7 separate regions of the Homo sapiens genome follow, and all the other regions are linked to region 1. The links are contacts of gene promoters, found by promoter capture Hi-C in blood cells and fetal thymus (Javierre and others, 2016). All regions are on one chromosome and are shown on one strand. The core of a region is centred on a gene start or on the middle of the fragment in contact, and the rest is flanking DNA. Distances in the headings are between cores, read along the strand shown.

The links. The method cuts DNA at HindIII sites, captures the fragments that hold promoters and counts their contacts. A CHiCAGO score of 5 or more calls a contact.
Region 2: a fragment that was not itself captured here is called in contact with the fragment with the promoter of SPRY2 in region 1 in 3 of 17 cell types (endothelial precursors, erythroblasts and naive B cells); the score reaches 8.5 in endothelial precursors.
Region 3: a contact is called between a fragment that was not itself captured here and the fragment with the promoter of SPRY2 in region 1, in 7 of 17 cell types (monocytes, M2 macrophages, M0 macrophages and 4 more). The highest score is 8.9, in monocytes.
Region 4: a fragment that was not itself captured here is called in contact with the fragment with the promoter of SPRY2 in region 1 in 10 of 17 cell types (M2 macrophages, M0 macrophages, M1 macrophages and 7 more); the score reaches 26.7 in M2 macrophages.
Region 5: a fragment that was not itself captured here is called in contact with the fragment with the promoter of SPRY2 in region 1 in 1 of 17 cell types (naive B cells); the score reaches 8.2 in naive B cells.
Region 6: a contact is called between a fragment that was not itself captured here and the fragment with the promoter of SPRY2 in region 1, in 5 of 17 cell types (M0 macrophages, M2 macrophages, M1 macrophages and 2 more). The highest score is 10.4, in M0 macrophages.
Region 7: a contact is called between a fragment that was not itself captured here and the fragment with the promoter of SPRY2 in region 1, in 2 of 17 cell types (naive B cells and megakaryocytes). The highest score is 7.1, in naive B cells.

What each region holds. Positions count from the first base shown.
Region 1 is chr13:80,339,856-80,342,555 of GRCh38, forward strand. SPRY2 (sprouty RTK signaling antagonist 2) reads right to left here and starts at 1,271. Exons shown (of 2, transcript NM_005842.4): 1 at 767-1,271. RefSeq lists silencers at 1,219-1,408, 1,639-1,688. The HindIII fragment of the contact is 9,098 bases long and covers 1-2,700 here.
Region 2 is chr13:80,928,032-80,930,731 of GRCh38, forward strand. No RefSeq gene overlaps it. Among named protein-coding and RNA genes, the nearest start is that of LINC00377, 89 kb to the right of the region's middle. The HindIII fragment of the contact is 2,222 bases long and covers 224-2,445 here.
Region 3 is chr13:79,795,729-79,798,428 of GRCh38, forward strand. No RefSeq gene overlaps it. Among named protein-coding and RNA genes, the nearest start is that of LINC01038, 7.3 kb to the right of the region's middle. The HindIII fragment of the contact is 3,823 bases long and covers 1-2,700 here.
Region 4 is chr13:79,779,395-79,782,094 of GRCh38, forward strand. No RefSeq gene overlaps it. Among named protein-coding and RNA genes, the nearest start is that of LINC01038, 24 kb to the right of the region's middle. The HindIII fragment of the contact is 4,415 bases long and covers 1-2,700 here.
Region 5 is chr13:80,884,504-80,887,203 of GRCh38, forward strand. No RefSeq gene overlaps it. Among named protein-coding and RNA genes, the nearest start is that of LINC00377, 130 kb to the right of the region's middle. The HindIII fragment of the contact is 1,980 bases long and covers 287-2,266 here.
Region 6 is chr13:79,761,644-79,764,343 of GRCh38, forward strand. No RefSeq gene overlaps it. Among named protein-coding and RNA genes, the nearest start is that of LINC01038, 41 kb to the right of the region's middle. The HindIII fragment of the contact is 6,861 bases long and covers 1-2,700 here.
Region 7 is chr13:80,909,352-80,912,051 of GRCh38, forward strand. LOC124903241 (a long non-coding RNA gene) reads left to right here. Exons shown (of 4, transcript XR_007063927.1): 4 at 1-2,376. Among named protein-coding and RNA genes, the nearest start is that of LINC00377, 110 kb to the right of the region's middle. The HindIII fragment of the contact is 976 bases long and covers 776-1,751 here.

The DNA.
Region 1 (2,700 bases), core at 21-2,520:
ACTTTCAGGTAATGGAAAATGATCGCGACCGCTTGATGACTTTCTTCCTGCGCTGGGTCAGCCCGAGCTTCCAAAAATAAAATAAGTGTGACCCAGGCTGACCACGAAGAACGGAAGAGAGAGAGCTGCACTTCCGAACCGCAGAGACCCGGCGCCAGGCAGGGCGACGCTCCCACCCGCTCCGGGCTAGACTGTCCACACGGAGCAGAGGCGGGCACTCCCTCCACCCGGCACCCTGCCTTTTTCTCACCCTGGAAGTCTCCTGCCCCCGAGGCGGGCAACCTGTGTCCCCCAGCCCCACCAGCGCCCCGCCTAGGGACAGCCTCTCCCTGGACTTTGCCTTCCACCAAGAGGAAGAACAGGTTAGAAATGCGGGCGCCTGCAAAGGCAACCTGGAAAATACAAAGTGTTTTTCTCTCCCTCTCCCGCTCTCAGCGCCGAATTCGCGGCCAGTGCACGGCTGGGAGCAGACTTCAGGCTAGCTGTCCTCCGTCCCAACCCCCTAGAGCGCGGGCGCGCGGGGTCGCCTGTCGGGGACACTGCACGGGGTGCATACAGAAGTCCCCGCAGAGGCAGGCCGAGCCCAAGCCCCGGGCGAGGCAGGTCCGCGGGGAGCGCCCCGGATCCTCGCGAAGACCCTGCGGGATTTGAGAAAGGGAGGCTCGGGGAGAGACGGACCCAACTCCTGGTCCGGCTGCACCTACTCCATGTTGCCCACAACGCGCCGGCCGCGGCGCCAGGAGGGGAAGAGCCAAACGTGCCTCACCGTGATCGCGGCTTTGCACCAACCCCTCTCCCTTGGATTCTCTTCTTTCTGCGATGTGCAAATAAATCCAGTCTCGATGCAAACTTTTTTCCTTTCTTTCCAACCTCTGCTTTAGACCAACTTCCGAGCAATCGGCGGGAGAAAAAAAGAGAATTCGGAGCCAGATTCCCCGCTGATGAACACTCCGGGGTTCGGAGCTGGAGACGACTCCCCTTCTACAAGCGCACGCGGAGTATTTCCTCTTTTTTCTCAATGAACAAGAGGCCGAAGCGCCAACGGCAAGTCCCTTTTCCTGGCAGATGAGCGAATGGGAAAAGAAAACGGCCTTACGGAGAACCTAAAGCCAGATCGCCAAGTGGTGCGGCCGGGGCCGCGTCGTAGCGGAGGCGGCGCGGGGGCGCGGGCCGGGCCGGGCCGGGCGGGCGCGGGGGCCTGGGCGCTGCGCGCTCCGCCGGCCCCTCTCCTCCGCTAGCGCTGCGGCGCGCAGCTCTCGGCGGTGCAGACTGGGCGTTGTGGAGGCGAGGCAGCGAGGCCGAGGCGGGGGCGGTGGGTGCGGAGGAGGAGGAAGAGGAGGAGGAGGAGGAGGAGGAGGGTCTGGGGCCCGCCCGGGGGGGGCTCGCCGTTGGCCTGCGCCCTCGCCTTTCCGGAGGAGGCAGGGAGCTCTGCGGCGGCCGCGGCAGCAGTAAATGGCGTCATGTGGATCCGAGGCGGAACAGAGCAGTTGTTGTCCCAGAGGATATATCGCATCCGGTCCCAGCTCATTGGCTCCGCGGGGCTACATTCACTCACACTCCAGCGCCCGCCAGCGCTCCGAGCCGCAGGAGGCATTCAAAAGGGCAACCGCGCCGCCCCGCGCGTCCCCAGGCCGGTCCTGCCGCCCGAGCGCCGTCACGCGGGGCGCCCGCGGGGCCGGGCTGGGCACTGCAGGGTCAGTTTATCTAGTTTCAAGGAAACACTGACCTTAAGGTTTGCCCAGAGGCAATGAGGACGAGCCAGAGGCTCGAGCTGACTTAGGGAACTTTCTCCTTGCCACCAGGAAAGGGGAATGAACATTTAAGACTAATCTGGGCCACGCAGTGTTAGCATGAAAAACAAGTTGCAGGTTTTAAGACTTTATCCAGAATCCATTTCAAGTCTACCTCTCCCCTTTTCTGTTCCCCTTTGCGGAGCGGGTGACGGGGGCTGGGGCGGGGGGAGAAGAAGGGGGAGGGGAAGGGGAGCGGGAAGTGAGGTGGGAGGGCTATTGGTTTATTCTTTGTCTACTGGATTAACCCGATTATACACCAGGCACCAGCACAAACCGCCTCCCCCACCTCCGAGCCTTGTACGGGAGGAACGGAATGCAGATTCGAGTTTCAAGTACCTTCTGCTCTTGCTGGGATTTGCTTTTGATTGTGTCGACTTGTAGTTTTTCCGTTTATTAGAATTTCATTTTTAAGGGGGGTTATCTATGAATGGAGGCTTTTTGAAGAGCTTCCTTACTATTTTGCTTCATGCAGTAGCTAAAGTCTACAGTCTAAGCCTTTTAACTTAATTCATTAATAGACAGGAACAAGATTACTCAGGGCGACAGCATGGGCTTCCGAAATGGGGGGGCGGGGGGGAGGGAAGGGTTGGCTCACTGCAGATTTCCTTCTTCCCTTAACTAAAAGTCATCCTTCATTTCCCACTTTTCTTGCCACCTAGAACATTTCTCAAGATTCTGTTGTCCATGTTGAAGGTGCACTATTCTTTCCCATTTACAAAAAAAAAATAAAGATAGAAAATGCATACATATGCACTGTCCTAGCTGCCGTTCATTTACTAAGAAATGTGCCTTCACGTGGGAGCACCAGTGGAAAATTAAAACTTGCGCATACACACGCCTAATATTGCATTCTGTCGAGCGACTTACAGAATGCTTTTACTTTACAGGGAAGTACCTGCTTGTACGG
Region 2 (2,700 bases), core at 85-2,584, 590 kb after region 1:
GCTTGTTAAGAAAATTGTTTATTGACAAGTTTGACATACTTAATACACAGCAGCTATTATTATTAGCGTTATTTTTATTCTATTAACGTTCCTGGAAAACAAGTCAGCTCATACACAAAGGCACACCTACACATGCACACATGAAGAAGGTCAAAGTATTATGAAAACAAAATCCAAAAAAGTTACTGTATCTTGTATGTGAAGCTATGAATTATACACAATAAGCTTTTCAAAAAAGGAAAATATTTATAGATCCGTCTACATAAATTTCAAAATCCTTTGCACAAAAATATATGGCAATCTTGGCTTACCTTAAAATTGAAATGACCAAATATACTGTTAAAATAGAAAAGAATCTCTATTTATGCAAGAACTTAAGAAAATATGACATGTATAAAAGTTTGGGATACTTCAGATGACGTAATTTAAGAGCAACCTGCCTAAGGGAGGGACGATTTATCTACTAGATACAATATGAGAAATAAAACTTCACATACTTAGTTTGACTGCTCCCATAAAAACCTTTTAAAAATAGATATGGCTGTACTTCCTTCTTCACTTCCTCCCTCTGTCCCTCTCTCTCTTCATTCCTTCCTGAATAATTAAGTGAAAAATAATAATAAGAAGGCAATTCCAAGTGAGGAAGGGAATTCAGCAGAGGTCAGAATGATGCTGTGCTGGTAAACAGATTATCTGAAAAAAAGCACTGATTTGTAGCATTTGCCAATTTCTGTAATGTCAATACACCAATCATAGCTGATTTCAAGCTACTGACAATTCAATAACTGTCTTGTATCATTTATAAATTCTTAAAAATCAGCTCCTGTGAGCCTGAATGAGCCAACTACAGCACATCATGGGGTCAAAGCCCCTGAGAAGGTGAGTACATAGCCAAAGGTCAAGAGATTGATTATGGATTAGTTGTGGCCTGGAGCTGGTTCCACTGACTTGTGAGAAGTCAGTTGTGTGTATCTCTTCCCAACTGTGCTTTCAATGAATTCAAGTTGATAATCTGAAATCAGCTATGGTGGGAATATTTATATTACAGAAAATTGACAAAGATTAAAAATCAGGGATGTTGTGAGCCTTTTTTTGCATAAAGAGATTGGAAATAAAATTCTATAATAACTGAAAATAGTTGGGTCTGAAAAGCAATAAAGTATATTAAAATTTCTGGCAAACTTGTTCAATTTTTATGGGTTTATTCAGAAAATTTTTAATAAAGACTTAGGAATCTTTTACCACTAAATATTATGTTAATGCAAGACTATATTTTTTCCTTTGTTAAAATTAACACTGACCAGCACATCACTACATACAGGAAAGATGGCCAGTATTTGGGGTTAGGCTTCCCATGCTTGGAGATGAGTGTCACAAACTTGTCACAGGTCAAATCTAGGACAAATAAATAAATAAATGTGGATGAGCCAGGCAAAGAATAGCCAGGCACTGAGCAACATGACAAAACCCTGTGTCTACAAAAAAATAAAAAAATTAGCAGGGCGTGGTATCAAGCACCAGTGGTTCCACCTACTCAGGAGGCTGAAATAGGAGGATCACCAGAGCCTGGGAAGTCAAGGTGACAGTAAACCATGATTACACTACTACACTCAGCCTGGGTGACAGAGCGAGGCCCGGGTTCAAAAATAAATAAATAAATAAATAAAAACTAAAAATAGATAAAAATTGGAAAATTGGATCCTTTAGTTATAAAATGTAGAACTGGGCAGTTGATAAAATTTTAATGAGGCCTCTTGATTAGGGTATATGAGAATTCTTTGCATTATTCTTCTACCTCATTTAAAATTGTTTCAAGTTTAAAACTAGTTGAATAAAAAGTTAAAACCAAAATGAAATTTAAAATATAATAATTGAATAACAAAACAAAACAAAAATACTTTTGGCCTGTGAAAATCTTTGATTTTGTTGACTATCTTGAGTTTATCACATTTTTGGAATCATGTTTGATTGCAATTGAGTCTGATTTTAAGAGGAAAATAATTTATAATACATAGGAGTATACAAGCACTCACTTCAATTCCATTTTCAGAGTCATTCTGCTCTGACTCCAAACCCCATGGCATCTTGCAATGCAAAATGTACGTATATGGAGAAAAGTTTCGTTACTGACTTGTGCTTGAACATTATTTCTGTTGATATTTTAACTTATACATTGCCAATATGATTGATAACAGAGCTTTCCAAATTTGAAGTTATTTAAAAATTTGTATAAGTTGAAATAGATCCCTATTAGAGTAATACAGGAAATTAGAGGCATTACAAAGCAAATAGTTGGTTGAAGCATCAGAGAAATAACAAGAATAAGATCCAAAACACAAACGTCACTAGTCATTCAACCTATATGGGGGAAAAAAGTCTTTAACAGAAAATGAGAGAAGTTAGAAAATAACATTTTCCTGATAAGTACAATTTTATCGTATAGCAAGCTTTCATATTGTGGAAGTTAGGCCTTTAAAATACTAGGTTTCTACAAAAAGTGGCATACTCTTCCATTGATAGTAATTGGATATAATAAAAATAAATATAATTATGTCCTAGACTTTTCCACCCTTTGATGGAATTTTTTACTAGAAGCTTTTTAAATTTAAATTTAAAATTTTTAAATATTTTAGAGTGTGTACTTCTAATTTACTGAGGAAGAATAGAGTTAGTAGCAGTTTTGTAATCTGTCCAAGGCCA
Region 3 (2,700 bases), core at 164-2,663, 540 kb before region 1:
AAGTTCCGAGTAGGCAAAATCGTCATTTTCTACCTTTCCCCAGTTTTTTTCTCACCATAAAATAAGTTCCACTGAACTTTTTCTGTTCACTTATATCTATTATTGATCTGCTCAACCAAATTTGCAAAATTGAATGTTAAGCCCTTGGCACTGGCCAATGGCTTGTGTATTTTAAAAAGTACACAGTAGTTTAAGATGTTCATAATGTATCATTCATTTGTTGGAGGGTGGATGTATGCTCAATTTTCCAAGTAAAAAGTTACAAAAAATTTTCTTAAAAGATATATTCTTTAAGGTATCTACTAACTAATAGAATTCCACAAAAATGCTCTCAGAGTAGAGTGAAGTAAGTTACCATTATCCTGTTTGGTTGTAAAATTAAATAATCCCAAGTGTTTTGAATTGGATAAGGACTTTAAAGCTCATGTAATCAAACTCTCACCTTTCAAGTGAGGAAGTAGAGGCTGAGAAACAATGGAACTAGCCTACACCCACACCCACACATCCTGGTGGCCAAGTGAGGCCCAGACCCCAATCACTGGCATCCCAGCTCCATGCTTTCCCCACTGTGTGACCAGCATGACAGATGTCTCCTGATCAGAAAACCAGAGCACTTCAGAGAGCAGTTGTCTGACACTACGGGTGATATGTGAGCCAGCTGCATGGCATATGCTTTGTGTTCCTTAGAGAAAATTTCAGAAGCTCAACTGTTTATAGACATAGGGCACATTTTTGGATGCATAGGTCATTCGGAAATGGCAAAGATGCTCTTCAGGGTCACAGATCTGGCTTCAACACCTGCAATTTGTGTAGGTGACAAGTGGATCTTTGATGAAAGGTAGAGACATTTATAGGAAAGGAAGAATGTAAATTGTTCGCCATGCAAATATTTACCTGAATTGTCTTCCCTTAGTGAAGGAAGTATTTTAAGCAGGATCACTTGCTTCTGTGGTGTGAACTCCCTTATAGACTGATCAGTCTTGTCCTGCTTCCTTCAGAATACTGTGTGATACCATGATTGAGATGGCAACATGTTCAACGAGTGCTGCTCAATTGTTACATAGGTGTCTTGTGGCCATGTTTCCAAACCTCAAATCAAGACACAGTTTGAGTAGCCTGACTGTGCTCAGTGTGCCTATGAAAAAGAATATTTGAAACTATGCTGTTCATAGAATTCTGCAGTGAATGATTACCTTGACTATGCAGCTAAAGAGATGTTCATGGAAGAAAACGGGGATGGCTTTAGAAAGAATTTTGTGAAAAGACTTTAAAAAAAATGATGCACTCCAATTCTGCCTCTAATTCTCAAAAATGACACCCATATAGGTATCCAGAAGATACCTCTGCTATGAGTCCACAGTCCTCCTATTAAAGAGTCATTTTAACCATGAAATTGCAAAAATTTTAAGTGTACAGTTTGTTTAAAATTATGCAATTTGATTGTAAGTACTAAAGGCTCAAGTTCCAGTTGATTAAGAAATGACATTAGAAGCGTTCATAACCCCTTTGTATAAAATAGATACATAAGCACATATTTAGCTCTAAAATAATATTTGGATTGGTTTTGCCTCTTTGGTTCCCACTGGGTAGAATAAAATATACTGTCATGATATAGAAGAAAGACATATATACAAATATCTCCTTTTTTTCTTGGCGCTATGGCCATATGAACTTCAGGAAGGGAAGTTTTGATTCCTGAGCGCTAGCTGGAGTGCTGTTTTTGTGGCACCCTCCGCAAGACATCAAAATACAGTAGGGTTTTCTGGGATGAAATCTACAGAGCAGATCATAAAGGCTGCTTCTGTAAGGATGAATTTCTTATGGAAAATTCCTAAATATTTTGTGGAACTGAAGGAATGATACTCCACTCTATTGCAAGGGATTTGAGGATGACCCAAAGGTTGGGAATTAGGAGCAGCAATAATTTTTCTGGGGATTGCTCAGGCACATGGAAATGAACAAGGGCACTTCAGGAATACTTTCTGGCTCCTATCTCTGTTTTTGACTGCAGTGCATTCCCAGAATCAAAGTCTTCCATCCCCATTCCTTCTATTTTAGAGTCCTTGAATACAGGATCATTAACAATTTCCCAGAGCAATTTAATATAATAGAATTAACTCCTAGAAGAGAAGGGAGGTAAGAAGAGGAGGGAATCTGTAAAAGAAATCATGCTGCTCAAACAAAAATAGTGTTGAGCTTTCCAATAAAATTCCATTGAAATGACAATGTGCTCCCTGAACTCAGTTAAAATAGTTTAGTGGTTATAAGCAGATTATTTGGATTCTGTATTATTACCTATTTGTCCTTAGCCCATTGTTCAATCACCTTACACCTCAGTTCCCTGATCTATAATCTGGGAAATAACAAGGTCTCTCTCACAGGACTATTATCAGGATCAAATGAGACAAAGTACCTAGTTCAAAGCACATTTACAGGCTTACACCTGTAATCTCAACACTTTGGGAGGCCAAGACAGGCAGATTGCTTGAGTCCAGGAGTTTGAGACCAGACAGGACAATATAGTGAGATCTTGTCTCTACAAAAAGAAAATTTAAAAAATTCACTGGATGTGGTGATGCACACCTGTAGTCCTAACTACTCAGGAGGCTGAGATGGGAGGATAGTTTGAGCCCAGGAGGCAAAGTTTGCAGTGAGCTGACATTGCACCACTGCACTACAATCTGGGTGACAGAATGAGAC
Region 4 (2,700 bases), core at 34-2,533, 560 kb before region 1:
TTGTTGGTACTAAGTTTTTGGTGCTGAGACAGGAATTGTGCTACCTCCTCATTCAACCTAGATTTGGGAGGTGACAGACCCAGTGCAAGTCTACTCTTGCATTCTTATGCTTTGAAGAATCTTGAGATAAACTCTCAGAAATGGGCTAACTAGCCACAGGAAAGTTTGTTATCTTTAAAAGACTTAAACATCCCACCTTCATCCTTCCTTCATTTGGTCTTCACCTTGTCCAAGAGAAAACCAGTCAAAGGGCTCATTTAGAAACATTTTCATTCTGTTGAGACTGATTCAAACATTTTCCCAAAACTTCTTTCTAGACCAATCTGGTTTTCCTGCCAAGAAATTCACTCTCACTGCTCTGCTTCCTGGGATTTGGGCATTAGCTATTGGTCTCTTTCTGTGGTTTTCTCTGTTTTTGTCTCCATGTTCAGCTTACTTTCCTTAATAAATCTAAGTTATCTCACTCTTTGAAACTTCTTGGTCCACATTGCTCAAAAGCAGAGCCAGAGGAAAAGGCAGTTCATGTCTCATTACTGTGGCAGAGGTTTGGACACTCCCAGAGGGCTCTCTGTTCCTCCTCCTCCCGCTGGCTATTGCAACAGGTTCCTGGAGTCAGACAATGCATTATCATGAGGATTACACTGATCAGCTCTAAGTCAGTTAGGTAACAGGAGCTCTTTCAATGGTGTCCTAGGATTTTGTCAGGTTGACTGTTCAAACACTGGTTTTTGGGATCCCCTCCAGCATTCCTTAATGTAATCCAGGCATGTTATTGCAGGTTCTATTTGAGAAGGGGCTACTTACTTGTCACTTAGAATATTTTCAGTTTTAAGTCAAAACCTTTTCAGAAAAAAAAAGAAAAAAAAGACAAAAGATATGAGAGCCCATGTAGGAGAGGCAGAAAAGAACAAAATGCAGAAAAGTCTATCAAATGCCAAACTTAGGTTAAGTGCACGTGTGCTCCGGAGAATGAGGTTTCTGTTTTGTTTTACATAGAAACTGCGATGGTTTTGCACTGTTTTGGTAACTACTGAGTAACTACTAAGTCACTACTAAGATCCAGTGAATTCAAAGGCAGAGGAACACAGGCAAGAGTGCAGGTCTGAGCTGCTTAGAAGGCTCAGAGATGTGTGTCTGTGTTTGACCCTCAGTGGGAGGAAGTGCTATAGGCTCCTGGTGGATGCCCATTTTTTTACCATATTATGCTATTGGATACTATTAAGAAGACAGGCACATTTCTGGGTGCCAGGGAAGAGACAGTGGTTCCAGATGAGTCAGACTGCTGCTGTCACCTCCTCCCTGCTGGAAAAACAAGACTCAGAAGCGACTTGGAGATGTTCAGAACTTGGGGTGAAGGCGTAAAGAGATGAAGTTTTCAAAGACCAACCATTTGCCAATGCCCTTTAAGTAGATATGAGTTGTCATATTTTAGCATAGTTTTTCTGGACAGAACCCCTTTAGATCTCTACTGTGATGTGACAGGCTCTTCCCAAACTTGCATAGAGAAGTGAAGTGGCTAGGTACAGAGCAAGGGGAGAGAAGACACTGTCTATAGATTCCAACCAAGGACCTTTTCCAGACCTTACTCTCCCTTTTTTATTTCTCATCCATTGTAATCTCATCCTGGGGTGCTATAAAGATACATATCCCTGGGGTGCTACTTAAATTATGGGATATAAATATAACATACCCCAGAGTCACCTCCATTAAATCTAATGGAAATTCAGACTTCATGGAAATCAACTATGGCACTTTTCTTGAGTATTTCTGGATTATTTAGTAATAATATATATCTTTCTTAACCCCAGCCCCATATATATATATTATATTATATATATATACATATTATATAGATATACATATATACACACATTATATATATACATATATACATATATTATATATAATATATATTATATGTAATGTATATATGGATGCATTATTACTGTGCATGTATATATATACACACACACTCTCCAGGATGCATTATTACTGTGTGTATATATATATACATACACATACACAGACTTATATACAGCACTGAACATTCTGAATTAGTAATAATTTGTTCATTTTTTATCAGACTTTACTAACAGGTCAGGGTGATATGGCCCAGCCTGAGAGGCAATATGGCAAAATATAAAGTGCAGGCAGAGTAAAAAAAAGAAATGCTCTTCCTTTTAAAATGTAGCCATCATTTATGGCCTTGGGTAGTTGATATAAACTCTCCACAACTGAGGGTCCTAGTTGGTAAAAAAGGCTTCATAGACTTATTGTACATTACATTGCTGTTTATATATACATGTTTTTATATACATTCCTTTTAAATTGAAGTGTCATGCTCAGTGCCTGACACACTATAAGTATCCAATAAATGACATCTCCATTTTTCTTTCCATATAAGTTAAAGGCCTTCTTACAAGAATTGGTGCCTAAAAGAAATCAGTGTATGAATATTTTAAAAACTGAAGTGCTTTAAAGAATGCGTGTCTCCCACTCTAAATTTCCTTAGATCACTAGTCTTCTTTGCACTTAAAAATGTCATCAGTATACTATGTAGATTCTGCCTTTGATTTGTAGTGATTAGATAGGACTGGTGAATCATTAGCTAACTCATAAGATTGTTGAATACTTGGAGACAGTGAGACGCAAGCATATCTCTAGATCTCAGTTGGTCCAAGGTACATGTCTCTGCTCCTA
Region 5 (2,700 bases), core at 27-2,526, 540 kb after region 1:
TAAATTAGTTTTAAGAGCAAGGCAAAGGCTTTTTTTCTCATACTATAAAAAGATTTTAACAGATTGCATATTTTTGAGCAGAAACTATGCTCCATCTGCCTCCACTGGCACTGAATAGTACACTACCTGTCACAAAAGAGTGTGAATTCTAGTTTAATTGATTCCAGAGCAGTTCTGTGTTTTTATTGTCACATAGAAACCAAGTGTTTAGGATTCATATACACCCCCAAGTCTGATCACAGGCAAATTGTGCAATGATCATTGTTTCTAAGGTTCATATTTATTAAGCTTGTGTGCTCAGGGGGCTACCCTAAAACTGATTATGTCTTCGTTTCCTCTATCTTCTCTAACAGCTAAAGGTCTATGATTACAAGGCATTTCTTGCCAAGGCGTTGTCTTTCATAAGTCAATAGACATTTGCAGGCTTTTGCCTACTTATGATTGTGGGGTTTCCCTACAGCTTACTCTGTTATCTTAGAAAAAAATGTTAAGTATCTTTTCTAAGACTGGATATTTCTTAGATATACATATAGTAAGGAGTAGACTGTTGCAAATTTATGGGAAGAGATGAAAAGAGGGCAGATATTATGCAAGTCTCCATCAAGTTATTTAAACAGTAATACATTTGAACTCTTCTTTAAAAGTAAAATTATGTCTTTATTATCCTGCATATACCTAAATGTAGTTCTATATTTGGGGAAAGATTAGATTAGAACTAAAGGGCACATTCTTCAGGAAAATGTCTGACATATAACCACTTGCTGTTCCTTATTTATGTATTTCTCTATATCAAACTTAAAGAAAGATATAGAGAAGTTATTCACATAGACTTTGTATAATGAGGAGATTCCTCCCTTCTTCCTGAGCACAGCAGAATGGAGATGGTCAATGGGGCCACAAACGAACTCTTGGGAATGAGCAGATTAACACTTTTCCTAAAAAAAAAGAGTGATAAATTATCTAAATTCTTCAAAATGCTTTTTAAATTTGGTTGAAATTTTAGAATTTTTAAAATTCTGACAATAGTAAAATGCCAATTGTTAGAGGTGTTCCTGTTTATGTGTTTGGTTTAGGTTAATACTGTGTTACCCAATGTGACTAATCTTTGAATTATTAATGTAATGTTCATAACTTTTGCTAGCAACTCACCCAGAATGGTCAACTCTTTGTTATTGTGTAGTATTTATCACCTATTCTAAGGCATTATAGTATTTATTATTTTGACAAATTTTCAAATATAAGTGCTAGTCTCTAAAGCAATGGTTTATAAGCCATATCTTTTAGACATTACTATTCTAATATAGATCTTTTCCCATTAGATTCAAAACAACTTGAGCTTCCTTTCCAACAGAAGTCTCTACTACCTTTCAAGTTGCCATATAACTTGAAATGTATTTACTATTCCTTTTTGATGAACAAAAGAGGTCCGGTTTCACAAATGCTTATCAAGTTCAATATTAGGTGAGATTCTGTATTAGGCAAAGACGAATAAAATGAGATTACAGTGTACTGGGAGAAACATACATATACAAATAAATTATAATGAGATTTCTGCTTTGGGCCAAGATGGAGTAGAAGAAACAAGATTTACCCTCATGACTAAAACAAGAAAATAAGAAACAAAAAATATAAAGCAATGGATCTCGACATTACCCCTCAAGCAACAATGGCAGTTATGTGAGTGAGACAGAAAACAAATGAGGTGAGTTCTGTGATTGCTCTAGCCTACACGTTTCTGGAACTTAGGGCAGAGCAAGGACCCAGGGAGAACCTGGCAGTCTCCCTGAGTTTAGAAAATGAATCCGAAAACTCAGGGAAGTCAAAACACCTAGAGTTTGAAAAGAAAAGCATGGGAGAGGAAAGAAAAGCAAAGAGAGAGAACTGCAGAGAATTTATCTCACAAGTGTTCAATTGAAGGCTGATCAGTACATGTGTGTAAGGAAACCAACCACCTTAAATCATTAAAGGCGACAGTGTCCCGGACTTATAAAGGACCAGCAGTAGTGCCAGTTTCCAATATCTAGAGAAGAAAACCTCATAATTCACAGAATATCAGATAGTATACTCAGAAGAATATGCTTCAGTAGTGGAAAACATTAACCCTGACAAAAGGCTATGCTCATTCTTCTTAGGAAAGCATTAAGACAAGAGATCTCAAAGAGTGAACGCTTTCCAATTAACTTAAATGCCTTGTAGAACAAAGGAATCAAAAAATATCCTGGCCCAAATAAGATAAAATTCATGATGCATGTAATAGAAATTATGAAGCTTAATATAAAGAATAGAAATTATGAAGCTTAATATGAATTATTAATAGAAATTATGAAGCTTAATATAAAGAAGCAAGGAAATGTAAGCCATAATGAGAAAAAAAATCAATTAAAAATGATTCGGAAAAAAGGGGATGGAGTCAATAAAGAGTGAAAGAATAGTTTTTACAATTGTATTCAATATGTTCGAGAAGCTAAAGGCCAGATTGGACATGTAAAGTGCAGACATGAAAGAGGTAAAACTAAAACATCTCAAGTCTAAAACAGATAACAATCTGCAATGCCTAACAGAAAAATACAGTGAGTAGAGTTAACAGCATTTTGCAGAAGAAAAGCACAGTAAATTTCAAGACATAACAATAGAAACTATTCAAAAGGAAATACAGAAAGAAAAAAGATTTTAAAAAACGAACAGAATATCAGTGAACTG
Region 6 (2,700 bases), core at 176-2,675, 580 kb before region 1:
TGGTCTATTTAGGAGTTGGATTTCTTCATGGTTCAATCTTGGTAGGTTGTATGTGTCTAGGAATTTATCAATTTCTTCTAGGTTTTTTAAGCTATTGGTATATAGTTGCTCATAGTAGTCCCTAATGATCCTTTGAATTTCTGCAGTATCAGTTGTAATGTCTCCTTTTTCATCTCTGATTTTACGTATTTGGGTTGGCTCTCTCTTTCTGTCTAAAGGGTTGTCAATTTTGTTTATCTTTTCAAAAAATCAACTTTTCATTTTTGTTGATCTTTTATATTTATTTCATTTCAATTTCATGTATTTCTGCTTTGATCTTTATTATTTATTTCTACTAATTTTGGGTTTCATTCTCTTTTCTAGTTCTTTAAGACACATTTTTAGATTAGTTATTTGATGTTTTTCTTCTTTTTTGATGTAGGCTCTTATTGCTTTCCTCTAGTATTGCTTTCACTGTATCCTATAGGTTTTGGTATGTTGTGTTTCCATTTTCCATTTTCATTCTTTTCCAAGAAATTTTAAATTTTAAATTTTAATTTTTTTATTGACTCACTGGTTGTTCAGGAGCATCTTATTCAATTTTCACGTGTTTGTATACTTGTTCTTGCTATTGATTTCTTGTTCTGTTGTAGTCAGAGAAGATATGTGATATGATTTTAATTTTTTAAAATGTTTTAAGTTGAGTTTTGTGGCCTAACATGTGGTCCGTCCTCAAGAATGATTCATGTGCTAAGGAGAAAAATGTGTATTCTGCAGCCATTGGATGAAGTGTTTTGTAAATATGTATTAGATCCATTTGGTCTATTGTATAGATTAAGTCCAATGTTTCTTTGTTGATTTTATGTCTGGAAATTCTGTCCAATGCTGAAAGTGGGGTGTTGAAATCTCCAGCTATTTTACTGGGGGCCTATCTCTCCTTATAGCTCCAATAATATTGCTTTATATATTTAGGTGCTGCAGTGTTGGATGTACGTGTGTGTGTGTGTGTGTTTGTGTGCATATATATATGTATGTGTGTATATATATGTAACAATTATAAATATTTTTGTTTATTTCATTTCAATTTCATACATTTCTGCTCTGACCTTTATTATTTATTTTCTTTAATATTTATGTAGATGTATTTATAATTGTATCCTATTGCTAAATTGACCCCTTTGTTATTATATAATGACCATCTTTGTGTCTTTTTATAGTTTATGTCTTGAAATCTATTTTATCCTATATAAGTATAGCTACTCCTGCTCTTTTTTGTTTCCATTTGTGTGGGATATCTTTTTCCCATGCCTTTATTTGCAGTCTATGTGTGTCTTTATAGGTGAAGTGTGTTTCTTGTAGGCCACAGATCATTGGATCTTGTTTTTTTTAATCCCTTCAGCCACTCTTTTGATTAGAGAGTTTAGTTCATTTACATTCAATGTTATTGATAAGTAAGGACTTACTCCTGCCATTTTGATATTTGATACTGGTTTTTTTTTTATTTTGTGGTCCTTCCTTCCTTCCTTCCTTCTTACCGTCCATCTTCCTTTTAGTGAAGGCAATTTTTCCAGGTGGTATGTCTTAATTTTTTAATTTTTATTTTTTTTGCGTGTATTTGTTGTAGGTTTTTGGATTTGAGGTTACCATGAGGCTTACAAATAACATCTTATAACCCATTATTTCAAACCGATGACAACTTAACACTGATTGCAAAAACTAAGATAAAACTAACAAAAACTATATACTTTAATCTCATCACACTCACTTTAACTTTGTTTCTATTTATATCTTGTTATATTGTCTAGGTCTTGAAAAGTTGTCATAATTACTATTTTTGATAGGTTCATCTTTTAGTCTTTCTACTCAAGATATGAGTAGTTTACACACCACAATTTCAGGGTTATAATATTCTATGTTTGTCTGTGTATTCACTATTGCCAATGAGTTTTGTACCTTCACATGATCTCTTATTGTTTGTTAATGTTTTCTTTCAGATTGAAGAACTCCCTTTAGCATTTCTTGTAAGACAATTCTGGTATTGATGAAATCCCTCAGCTTTTGTTTGACTAGGAAAGTCTATTTCTTCTTCATGTTTAAAGGATATTGTTGCTGGATGTGCTATTCTATGATAAATTTTTTTTTCTTCCTTTAGCACTTTAAATATGTCTTGCCACTCTCTCTTGGCCTGGGAGGTTTCCACTGAGAAGCCTGCTGCCAGACATTGGCATTCCATTGTATGCTATTTGTTTTTTTTCTCTTGCTGCTTTTAGGACCCTTTATCTTTGAACTTTGGGAGTTTGATTATTCATTGTCTTGATAGTATTATTTGGGTTAAATCTGCTTAGTATTCTACAACCATCTTGTACTTTAGTGTTGATATCTTTCTCTCATTTTGGAAAGTTATCTGTTATTCAATCAAATAAAATTTTTACCCCAGTCTGTCTCTCTTCCTCCTCTTTAAGGCTAATAACTCTTAGATTTGCACTTTTGAGGCTATTTTCTAGAACTTGTAGGTATGCTTCATTCATTTTTATTCTTTTTTCTTTCATTTCCTCTGACCATGTATTTTCAAATAGCTTGCTTTCAAGCTCACCAATTCTTTCTTCTGCTTGATCAGTTCTGCTGTTGAGAGACTCTGATGCATTGTTTAGTGTGTCAACTGAATTGCAGCTGAAATTAGTGGGTTTTTGTTTGTTTGTTTGTTCTTTTGTTTGTTTTTTT
Region 7 (2,700 bases), core at 14-2,513, 570 kb after region 1:
CTTTATAGCAATGTGAGAACTAATACACTCAGACTGAGAAAAGTTAGTGACTTATCTAACAATATATAATACCTCTCAATTCAGTTTTCTTATTATTCTGAGGAAATGTTTTAAACACATGTGAGTTTGAAAGTAAAGTAAATTATAGTAAATTTAGGCACATTATTATAATAAGAAAAAGTACTCAAAAGGTAATTGCAATAGTTTATGAATATTAACATAGTCTAAAATGTGTACCACACATTCACTTTCTCTAAACCTATTAAATGGAATCAAGATTCTGAAAAAAACTGCAAGAAAACAATTATTTATGTCCAGTGTTGTCTTAAAATGTCATTGTAAATTGCAAGATTATTTATTCCTTTTTTTGTTTTTTATTTCGTGTTTAGTTGACCAGATGTTATCCACAGATAACTTCCCATAAGAATTAAATATAGAGCCAAAAGTATTGCATTAAAAATATTGTCAGTGAGATAGAAATCCAGGAACTGTATGTGAGAAACCTTAATCCTTCTCTTTATTTCACAAGTTGGGAACAAGTTCCAGTAGTAAGTAGGCAGGTGGTGTAATGAATATTTTACTATATAAGAAAATCCAGAAGTTACTTTCAGCTCTAGGTCTGCCATGTAAAAGCTTTGGGACTATGAATAAATTATTTAATTTTTAAATCACACTGTCCTCATCTGCAAAATAAAATATACTAGCCTAAAATAAAAATAATCTAGTCTAAATGCACTTTAAGATCCTTTTTAGCTTTAACTTTACTTTTGTAGAAAGCTTCAGAGGGATTTTGACATGCATTAAGGGATAATGGGATAATTTCACTAAATGTGTTAGAATGAGGAAAATAAAATTCGTTATTAGTGCATCAGGAACATAAAGAAATGTTGAATGGATTTTCCATGGGAGACAACAATGGCTCCATCCAAGGTTATAGGAAAAAAAATAAAGTGATAGAATATATCTTCGAAAGTAGCTTTTAACATATGTGCAGAGAATTGACACGGCACTAAGATATTTATATTTTAATCTATTATTCTGGTAATATTGCACAATATGGGGCTTGAATCACATGACATTCAAAAATAGGTTTGGTAAATCATTTTGAACTTCATTTTGAACATGTCTGCATGGACATAGGAAATGGAATGTTGAGTCTGTTTAAGAGGTTTAAGAGAGAAGAAGAAACAAGTTAGGGAGAGATTCTAGGGAAAGGGGACGCAGGCAAGAGGGGTATGTATTCACAACATTGTATTACTCCCTTATAACAGGGACTCTTGCAGACTGAGATTACATTTTGGAAGAGAGAGAGTTGAAATTAATGTTGACTTCTGGAAATCAAGCCTTATATTAGGTCACAAATGTACCAAAGAGGTACAAATGAAGAAATAATAAATGAAATAATTTATAAGACAGGTTATATGTGTGGAGGGAAACTCTCTGCATGCTGCATAAGTAGGAGTTCTGGAAAATGCCAACTCTTTTCTCATGTGTTACTTTAGACATCATTCCTCCATTAAGCCATTCTGAACCTATCTAAGTCTGGATTTTGTGCCCTCTGATAGACCGGGACAAATGTAGCCCATAAGAACTTGTATCAGTCACGATTGTCTTTATGCTTGCCTTTTCCCCCACTCAGAAGGTGCACAGGCAGGTTTTATCTTAAGCATTGTTGGGCATTGCACTTAGCTCCATTTTTGCCATGTAGTAGGCTGACACAATGAACTAATGGTCTGTGGTGGCAGAAATTAAGCTTGTTTGCAAAGAAACACAATATAACAATAACAATAAATACATCAAAAAATAGATGTGAAAACAGAAGTGAAGTGGTTAAAAGCTAGGGTTCTGATGAGGAGGAGTGTTTCTTATATAAGATGAACCTATTACTGTGTCATCAAGAATCAGTATCTTCATGATTTTCAGCCTTAGTTTCCAAATTTGTAAAACGGAGACAACAACAATGTCTATCTCATAGGGGATTTTAGAAGTTGAAATGAAATAATACATGCTCATGTATAACCTATGTATATGTAATACAAGACTAAGTGCTCAAAAATGTTTACCATTTTTATTAACCATAACTTCTCCTATAAATGTCATTAGAATACAGAAAAACAAGGAAGGATTTTCTCACAACAATTAAGTGTGTTAAAAGTAATATAGATTATTTTGTATCAGGAAGAAATTTCATCCAGCGTAAACACTTTTCATTTCAAAAAGTATGAGATTAGAAATTGTATTCTTTCAAAACTGTAGTCAGACTGTATATTTCCAGTGCCTGGCACATATCTGTCAAATATGCAAAGCCATTTCGTTTCATTTTTTTTTTATTATTATGCTTTAACTTCTGGGATACATGTACAGAATGTGCAGGTTTGTTACATAGGTATACATGTGCTGTGGTGGTTTGCTGCACCCATCAACCCGTCATCTACATTAGGTATTTCTCCTAATGCTATCCCTCCCCCTAGCCTCCAACCCCTGACAGGCCCTGGTGTGTGATGTTCTGCTCCCCGTATCCATGTGTTCTCATTGTTCATCTCCCACTTATGAGTGAAAACATAGTGTTTGGTTTTCTGTTTCTGTGTTAGTTTGCTGAGAATAATGGTTTCCAGCTTCATCCATGTCCCTGCAAAGGACATGAACTTATCCTTTTTTATGGCTTCATAGTATTCCATGGTGTATATGTGCCACATTTTC